Regions from separate parts of the Homo sapiens genome. Here all the other regions are linked to region 3. The links are contacts of gene promoters, found by promoter capture Hi-C in blood cells and fetal thymus (Javierre and others, 2016). All regions are on one chromosome and are shown on one strand. The core of a region is centred on a gene start or on the middle of the fragment in contact, and the rest is flanking DNA. Distances in the headings are between cores, read along the strand shown.

What was found. Contacts are between HindIII fragments. The CHiCAGO score rates a contact against its expected background, and 5 or more counts as called.
Region 1: a fragment that was not itself captured here is called in contact with the fragment with the promoter of WNT8B in region 3 in 1 of 17 cell types (M0 macrophages); the score reaches 5.1 in M0 macrophages.
Region 2: a fragment that was not itself captured here is called in contact with the fragment with the promoter of WNT8B in region 3 in 1 of 17 cell types (endothelial precursors); the score reaches 6.7 in endothelial precursors.

The regions. Positions count from the first base shown.
Region 1 is chr10:100,884,257-100,886,956 of GRCh38, forward strand. No RefSeq gene overlaps it. Among named protein-coding and RNA genes, the nearest start is that of SLF2, 27 kb to the right of the region's middle. The HindIII fragment of the contact is 2,683 bases long and covers 1-2,631 here.
Region 2 is chr10:100,862,899-100,865,941 of GRCh38, forward strand. No RefSeq gene overlaps it. Among named protein-coding and RNA genes, the nearest start is that of SLF2, 49 kb to the right of the region's middle. The HindIII fragment of the contact is 3,474 bases long and covers 1-3,043 here.
Region 3 is chr10:100,461,508-100,464,540 of GRCh38, forward strand. WNT8B (Wnt family member 8B) reads left to right here and starts at 1,502. Exons shown (of 6, transcript NM_003393.4): 1 at 1,502-1,729. The coding sequence starts at 1,662. The HindIII fragment of the contact is 5,936 bases long and covers 1-2,659 here.

The DNA.
Region 1 (2,700 bases), core at 40-2,539, 420 kb after region 3:
ATTAACAAGAGGCGGGAAGGGCTTTGGGGGCCTGCGCCTTTCGATTTCTTGTTGAGCTGGTTTATTGCTATTGTTTCTATTTCATACGTTTATTGCAAAACCAATAAAAATTATCTATTAAGAGCAGGAAACTCATCTTTTGACTTGTTGGTTGAGATTTCTACAGAATAACCTTTAACTGGCCCAACATGTCTGCAGGAGAGGAGAAGGCTCACGTAGTTACCTTGAGAGGCCAACCAAGAAGACAGTAGGAAGGCCCAGCCCTTGGGGTGGGGAAGGGGGTGGCCACAAAAACAAGAACACTGTATCCAGAGCCTGCCGAGGGCAAAGCCTTCCCACTGCCATCCTAACCAGTGGGAAGCCATACTGTGTTTTACCTATCCAATATTTTACATTTTTTAATTAATTGAAAACATGTAAAATTTGAGACTTTTCATCATACATGCTGGTATCTGGCTTCTCTTTTAAAATGGCAAGATCAGCCGGGCGTACTGGCTCACACCTGTAATCCCAGCACTTTGGGAGCCCAAGGCGGGTGGATCACGAGGTCAAGAGATTGAGACCATCCTGGCTAACATGGTGAAAACCCATCTCTACTAAAAATACAAAAATTAGCTGGGCATGGTGGCATGTGCCTATAGTTCCAGCTACTCAGGAGGCTGAGGCAGGAGAATCGCTTGAACCCGGGAGGCAGAGGTTGCAGTGAGCCAAGATCGTGCCACTGCACTCCAGCCTGTCGACAGAGTGAGACTCTGTCTCAAAAAAAAAAAAAAAAAAAAAAAAAAAAAAAAAAAAAAAAAGGCAAGATCATTCTGGCTTTCATTCGCACCTGGAAACAACTGTTTCTAGGAGAGAGACACTGTCTTACATTTTTTTTTCTTTTGAGACAAGATCTCGCTTGGTCACCTAGGCTGGAGTGTGGTGATGCCATCATGGCTCACTGCAGCCTCAAGATCCCTGGCTCAGGTGATTCTCCCACCTCAGCCTCCCGAGTAGCTAGGGTTATAGGCGCGTGCCATCATGTCTTGCTAACTTTTTTGTAGTTTTTGGTAGAGATGGAGTTTTGCCACATTGCCCAGGTTGGTCTCAAACTCCTGGGCTCAAGCAATCCACCTGCCTCAGGCTCCCAGTGTCGGGATTACAGGCAAGAACCACTGCACCTGGTCTGCAGCCCCTATTTAGAAGAGGACTAGGTTGGAAGGGGGAGAGAGTTAAACATTTATGAACTATTCTTGAAATAAAGTTCTGTAAGAATGCTTCTAAATCAGACTAATAAAATTTCTCTTCCAAGATCCTCAAAGGAAGGCCCAGGTCTAGTACCAGCTGGAAGGGAAGGGAGCTAACATTTCGTTGCATGCTGATGTGCCAGGCTCAGCACTGACTTTTTTTTTTTTTGAGACAGAGTCTCGCTCTATCACCTAGGCTGGAGTGCAGTGGCGCGATCTCGGCTCACTACAAGCTCCACCTCCAGGGTTCACGCTATTCTCCTGCTTCAGCCTCCCAAGTAGCTGGGACTACAGGGGCCCGCCACCACGCCCAGCTATTTTTTGTGTGTGTGTGTATTTTTAGTAGAGACAGGGTTTCACTGCGTTAGCCAGGATGGTCTCGCTTTCCTGACTTCATGATCCACCTGCCTCGGTCTCCCAAAGTGCTGGGATAATAGGCATGAGCCACCGCGCCCAGTCAGCACCGATCTTTTATGGGCATTATCCCTCTTTTACCAAAAGGGAAATTGAAGCTGGGAGATGTCAGTAATGCGCTCAGGGGCAAAGGATAATATAACCCCTAGCCTGAAAACACCAGCCCTAGAAGACACCAGTAACCATCTCGCCAGCTTTAAAGAAGAAATGGCAGGTACACAGTGTAATTCTCCCAGGCCTCCAGGTGCCCTGAGGGAAGATTCACAACCAATTGAGGGAAAATCCACCCAACTGTGACCCAAGTTAGAACTTGCCTCCAGAGTTACCAACACCCCTAAATCTAGTGAAAGGGAACCACAGGGTCTTTAATAATCACTCTGTCAGGTCACGGGATGGTGACTAATGGGCCTAGAGGAGGAGATGGTGAAAAACACTCTAGGAAATAAATTTGGGTGATTAAATTTCAAGGCAGTTCATGGAACAGCAATCTGAGGCCTAAACTAAGCCATCAAGTTACCAAGAGAATCAAGATTTCAATTTAACCGCTGCTGCCCAGGAACCAAGCCTGCGTCTGCAAAGTATTTGTGGGTTAGAAGTAGGTACCCTCCAGAACTTTCTGAGTAACTCTGGCACCTTCCTAACCTCAGCCATTCCTCCCAAAGGGCCAACTAGCAATAAGTCAAAGAATGCGTGTGTTTCTCCGGTTGTTTCATAATTCCAGGTCTTTAAGTAAAAAGAAAAATCATGGCTCACCGAGTAAGGGAGGTACGGGTTGTGGGAGGGCCTTCTATCAGGCGCAGGCCAGAGCCATACACAAATCTTTGAGAGACTCTCAGTTTACTAAACTAACAGGAGAGCCCAAATTCCTCCAATTCCCTGCTATTTCAATTGAATGCTATGTTCTCTGATTGGACCTTATCCCCAAACAGTCATGGTCTAATGTCTGGGGCATAATCCCCCCTCCAACTGAATCACACCCCAGGTGCTGTTAAGCTTTGCAGGTGAACACAACCCAGGCTCTAAGGTAAGAACCCTAGGTCTGATTCCCCATCAGATACTC
Region 2 (3,043 bases), core at 105-2,604, 400 kb after region 3:
CCCCATCTCTACCAAAAATTCAAAAACTTAGCTGGGCATGGTGGTGGGCACCTGTAATCCCAGCTACTTGGGAGGTGGAGGCAGGAGAATCGCTTGAACCCAGGAGGTGGAGGTTGCAGTGAGCCGAGATGGCACCATTGCACTCCAGCCTGGGTGACAGAGCAAGACTCCATCTCAAAAACAAACAAACAAAAAAAACACCACAACATCCCATGGGAGTCAGAGTGTTGAGGGCACAATCTGCAGGAGGTAGAGAGCAGCCAGCAGGGTCAGCCCTGCCACAAGGCCCGGTAACATTCCTGAAGGATCCCACTGGATTGGGGAAGATGGTAATAGAACTTCCCACGTGGAGAGGGCTGGCATAGGTCCCCAGCCCCAGCCCAATCCTGGTCTCCACCTTCAGAGATCCTCAGAGGTGCAAGGAGAGAAAAGCAGTGGGAGGGAGAAGCAGAGATGTGGGAGAAAGGCAGAGACAGGACGAGTGACAGAGGGAAGGAGGCTCTTATGAAGACACAGGGAGACAGTGGCAGAGACTCCAGAAGGGCAGATGGGTGACAAGGCCCCCAGCACAGCCCAGGAGCCTCCATGCACACAAAGCCCACGCTGGGGTTGGGGGACAGGGTCCTGGGGATTGGGGAGAGGACAGCAGGTTCCCAACCCTCTGCAGGTGCCAGCCCCCATCCTGGGCCAGCTCCCCACCCTTTCTGGAGCCAGCGGGTGGCACCCTGCCGGGGGCAGATGAGACTCCGACATGAGTGATGGGTGCCGATTTAGGCCCAGATTTGCCACAATTGTGGGGGCTGGCGCAGTTCTGAGACCAGGAGGAGGGGTGGGCAGGGTGTAAGCAGGCTGGACTGGCGATGGGGAAGCAGGGAGATCTCTGTGGGGAAGAGCCAGACTTTTCTCTGAGTGCCCAGCAGAGGCCAGGTGAATGGCGATTGGGGACCACAGCCAGAGAACTAAGAGGGGGCACTCTGCACAGGGCTTGACTTGTTTGCAGAGAGTGCAGGGTGAGTCCGCTGATGGGCCTGGACACACACACACACACACACACACACACACACACACACACACACGCGTCATTCCCCAGTCCAGCATTCACACCCAGAAGAAACCTCTGTGAGGCACGTACTGAGCACACTGCTGGAATGCCTACTGCGCGCCCCGGTGCATCAGGACCACCCATTCACTCAGTCACACCGCAACAATCTCAGCCCAACAACACTGATTCACCTCATCCCAGTTGCTCAGAGTGAAAGTCAGGCAATTTGCACAGACAGAACTCATCACACAAGGCATCTCTTGGTCTCCCAGACGTCCTCGCACATACGCACAAGCAGGCAGGCATACACGCATGCACGTATGTGTGCACACACAAATTGTTAAGTTTGGCAGGAGTGATGGGGATAGCCCTGGGGGTCTGGGTCTTCGTTTTGAAGAGAGAAAAAGACAGTGTCAGGTCACTGGGCTCATGGAGGCAGATCTGGGCCACAGCCCTAGCAGAGTCCAGTGAGGTCAGCCATAGGGTTCAGGTCCCTTGGGGACAGTCCTGTCCATCCTGGATGATTCGGCCCCACCCACACTGTCTCCAGATGCCCTCCTCCACCCTGCCAGGGTCCAGTCCCCTTCAGTCCCTGCCGTCACCCCCTCCCTGGGCCCCCTCCTGTCAGCTCATTCTCTTTCCATCTGCGTCGCTTCTTCTCCCCCGACTGACCCCCCCCATCCCCGCCCCCCAGCCTCGGTGATAAAAGAGCCAGATTGGAGCGGGTGCCACGCAGCTTCATTCCCCACCATATGGGCCCAAAAGCCAAATCGTCAGCTAAGCGATTAAATCAAGTATGTCGAACAAAATGTTATGAACTGACATTATGGGTATATAATTTTATGCCATTTGTTGCCATCTGTTTATCTAAACAGCCCCCGTTCCACACAGACATACAGACTCACACCTTCCCTCCTACCCTCCACCCGTCAGGAGCCCCCACCCCCAACCAGGGCCAGAGGTCAGGGACAAGAAGACGTGTGCCAGGTAGTTGAAGAACCAGGGGCTCCAGGGTTCTTGGGAACTGCAAGGAACTAGAGGGCCAGTAGTCCCAGAGAGCTGAGGAATAGGAGAGTGGGGGTCAAAACTGCTCATTGGCCCGAAAGGGGGCAAGACCCTTGGGGAACAGGAAGTTAGGGAACCAGGAGTCCCAGGCATAAAGACTGTAGCTAGGGCCATAGCACAGGGCCATGGACCAGAGCCAGGAGAGCCTCACTGGCAAGCCTCCAGCCTGGCACGTGGCACGTGGCACGTGTGTGTAAGTGTGTGTGCAGGGCAGGCACAAGAGCTGCAGCTGTGCACATCACAGAAAGCTGTAGGAGCTTTCTCTCCCTCTGCCCCTGTTTGTCCTGGGGGCCCAAGGCTCTCAGAGCCTGATAGGAGGGCTGGCTCCTCTCAGGACCACAGGCACAGGTCAGGGGGCCAGAGGCTTAGGCCATTGTCACTCATGTCTCCTCCTCAAAGTATGGTCACAGGGCAGGTGCCCCATCAAGCCCAGAGGATAGGGAGCCCCCGTCCCTATACCCCTCCAACCCCAAACAGCTTTGGAGTCTGAAATAGCCCCCTTAACACCAGGCCTGGGCCTCTGTGAGCTTAAGTGTGAGCCCCCAGCCACAGATCCGCGGCCATCCCACCCTCTTGGGCCTCTCTGCTGCCTGGCCCTGACCTGTGTCTGTCTCCACGCCTGTGGTCTCTCTGTCTGACCTCCCCTGTCTACCCCCTCTTCCATGGTGAGGGTCTCTGTGTGTCTCTCTCACCTCACTCTCTTTCTGCCTGTCTCTGGCTCTGTTTTGACCTCTGACTCTCCTGGAGGTACAGGCTTGGGCCTCAGAGATATCTAGCCAGAGGGATAGTGACTCCACAGAGGAGTACAGAGGTGGGAGGTGGGGTGGAGGAAGTGGGCCAGGAAGACAGCGGAGCAAAACATGACACACAGGGACTCAGATGGTGGACAGTCAGGTGACCCTGGGGCACTGCAAGCCTTGGGGCTGCTCCAGGAGC
Region 3 (3,033 bases), core at 252-2,751:
CTAAATCGTCTGGCCTAGGTAATGGAGAAAGTGAATTTGTGTATTAATTCTTTATTTTCTGGTTCAGTCTAGCCAGAGAGGGTTTTGGAGCAAGAGGAACAAGGTTAAAAGAAAAGAACAAAGACCATTGTCTCAGGGAGACCTTAAGAAAGGTGATGCGGATGCTAAAGTAGAAGGTGTGAAAATAGTTAGAAAGAATGAAGAAGACCTAGTATTCAACAGCACAACAGGGTGACTATCGTCAATAATAATTTCATTGTACATGGTAACTAAGAGTATAATTAGACTGTTTGTAACACAAAGGATTAATGCTTGAGGTGATGGATACTCATTTACCCTGATGTGATTATCATGCATTCATTGTATGCCTGTATCAAAATATCTCATGTACATGTACTCCATAAATATATATACCTACTATGTATCCACAAAAGTTAACTGAAATTTTTTTTAAAAGATGGGGCTATATGGCTACATAGACATCAGTCTGGAGCCCTTTGAGGATCCCCAGTGCTGTGGCTGAGGCCACCCTCCTCCCTAGGGAACAGAAGGAGCAGAGTCCCAGAGAAGTGTGAGCGAGGGCCTGGGTGCCCTCCTGGCTCCGCCACCTGAGTTTAAGAAAGTAGGGATTTTGAGATCACCTTTGTGTGCCTATTGAAATCTCTTTCCTTCTTCGAAACTCAAATTCTACCTTCTTCAGAAAACCTCCCCTAAATAAGCCTACACTATTATAGGCAGTTTGTAGCTTTCTAATACTTTATTAAACTGCGTTATTTTATTGTCACCTTACTAGGCTGTAAATGTTGTTAGGGCAGAAATCATGTTTTGGTTTTTAAAAATTTCCACAATGCCTAGGGTGGTGTTGAGAATAAAATAGGCATTTGGTAAGTAATTGTGTGATGAAAAAGTTGAAAGGAAGAAAAAACCATCGGGCTTCCTGAAGTTTCTAGCCTTTCTAACTTAGACAGAGAATACACTAGATGGTAGGACTGCATCCCCACATTCTCAAATCAGAGGGTGGAGGTTCACCTGCACCTGGTGTATTTTTTTCTGAAAAAACAAAACAAACAAAAAAATGCTATCCTGAATGCAAATTCAGTCTCAAAGTGCTACAGAGGACAACCAGGAAAGCACAGTCCTTTCTGGATCCCTTTTGGGGACCAGGCTGTGTGTGTGTGTGTGTTGTGTGTGTGTGTGTGTGTGTAAGTGTGCATAGGTGGGAAAAGGTTGTGGTGTGATGGGAGGGGATAGGCAAGAGGGAGGAAAGAGACTCCATGCAGTGATTATGTGGAGGGGATTTGCTATGTCTCTTCCCCCCGCTTCTTTCTTTGTCCTCTTTCTCCTGGTCCCCTTCTTCTGCATTTGTCTGGGAGGATCCTGGAGTGTTCTTTTGATCGACTCAATCTTTCTCTGGCACTTGAGTTCTGATTGGCTGAAGGACTTAGAGGGGAAAAAAAACTTTAATTAAGTAGATAATCTCTTCTTTGGACGTTTGGCAGCTCCATTTCACCTCCCCTTAACTCTGTTTGGGATCGCTTACACACCAAGGAAGTTGGGCTTTGAGAATTCCATCCCACTGGCACTGAGGAGAATATTTCTCCGTCTTGCTTACCCATCTCCCAGTTTTTTGGAATTTTCTCTAGCTGTTACTCCAGAGGATTATGTTTCTTTCAAAGCCTTCTGTGTACATCTGTCTTTTCACCTGTGTCCTCCAACTCAGCCACAGCTGGTAAGTAACCTGGACTCTTACCTGGAGCTGGGAATAGGTAAGTGTATGTAATGTGTTGGGTAAAGCTCATTTCATTTCCAGAAATGTAGGAAGCCTTGATAGCTCTCCTAGGAAAAACTGTTCTATGGGGTAGGGCTCTTCCTAAATTTATGGCTGATTTTAGTGAATCTTTAGGACCCCTACCAATAAAGGACTAAATGATGGGAGCGGGGGTTCCTATTTTTATAAATTGCTATTCCACAAATATTCCCCCAAAGTGATTTGGGGGTAAATGGACAGCAGCCCTTTTCACGAAATCCTGATGTCAGCATTGTAGAGAGGAGGAAGGTAGTTCAAAGCAAGTTCTACCGTGTGTTGAATCTGATCTTGAGGTAAAGTCTGGAGACAAAATTCAATGGGATCTTACTTTGTACTTTCTGACTTTATTTTTTTTTTCAGGATATTCTAAGTAATTGCTCAAATTATCATTTCCTAGACATAAAAAATTTTATTTGAACCACTAAGCAGGCATTGGGTTAACAAACATGTTTGAAACCAGATATTTTAGAAATCTAAACGTCTCGAGAAATTTATTTAATTTGTTCAATTTACAAATATTTCTAAATTGTTCAGAAAATCAGATAACGTATATGAAAGTGCTTTGTAAATTATAAACACAAATGCTAAAGAATATCATCACCATTCTCATTTAGCTCTTGGAAACCACATAAACTATCTATACATGCAACTGTTCATTAGCAAATACACCAGTACACAATAACATACAGAATGCAGGTTGCTAGGGTGTTCGGAGTTTCTCTCCAGTTCAGATATGAGCTCAGTCTCTCTCTTCATCAGCTCTCATTTTGACCATCTATTTAACAAAGATATAAATCCAATTGCTACATAAACTGTTGAGGAAGCAGGAAAAGAAATTTCTTTGCTGAGATAAGCTTCCTTTGAGAATTGAAAATACATTTTTATCATAAATGAGTGTAGCCGTCTTTATAGGAGTGTTGATAGGAAGTATGCCAACTTCATAAAACTATTTGCAAGTTAATACAATAATTTGCAACATTTCTGATTATAAGCAGAACCACCAATTAGTCCATTTTTAATTGGCATTTTAATTAAATATTTCAATGTTAAAAAAAAGGTCTCTCTTCTCTCCCCCTCATGAGAACAAAAAGACAAAAGGGAGAGGAGACTATTTCAGAGCATTTCTACTGATGTTCATGGTATTCTTCAGCTGATTCAGTATCAGCAAAAGAGAAACACGAGATTCCCTTCCCTAGTCACCAGGGCGGTGTGAAGAATTGTTCTAT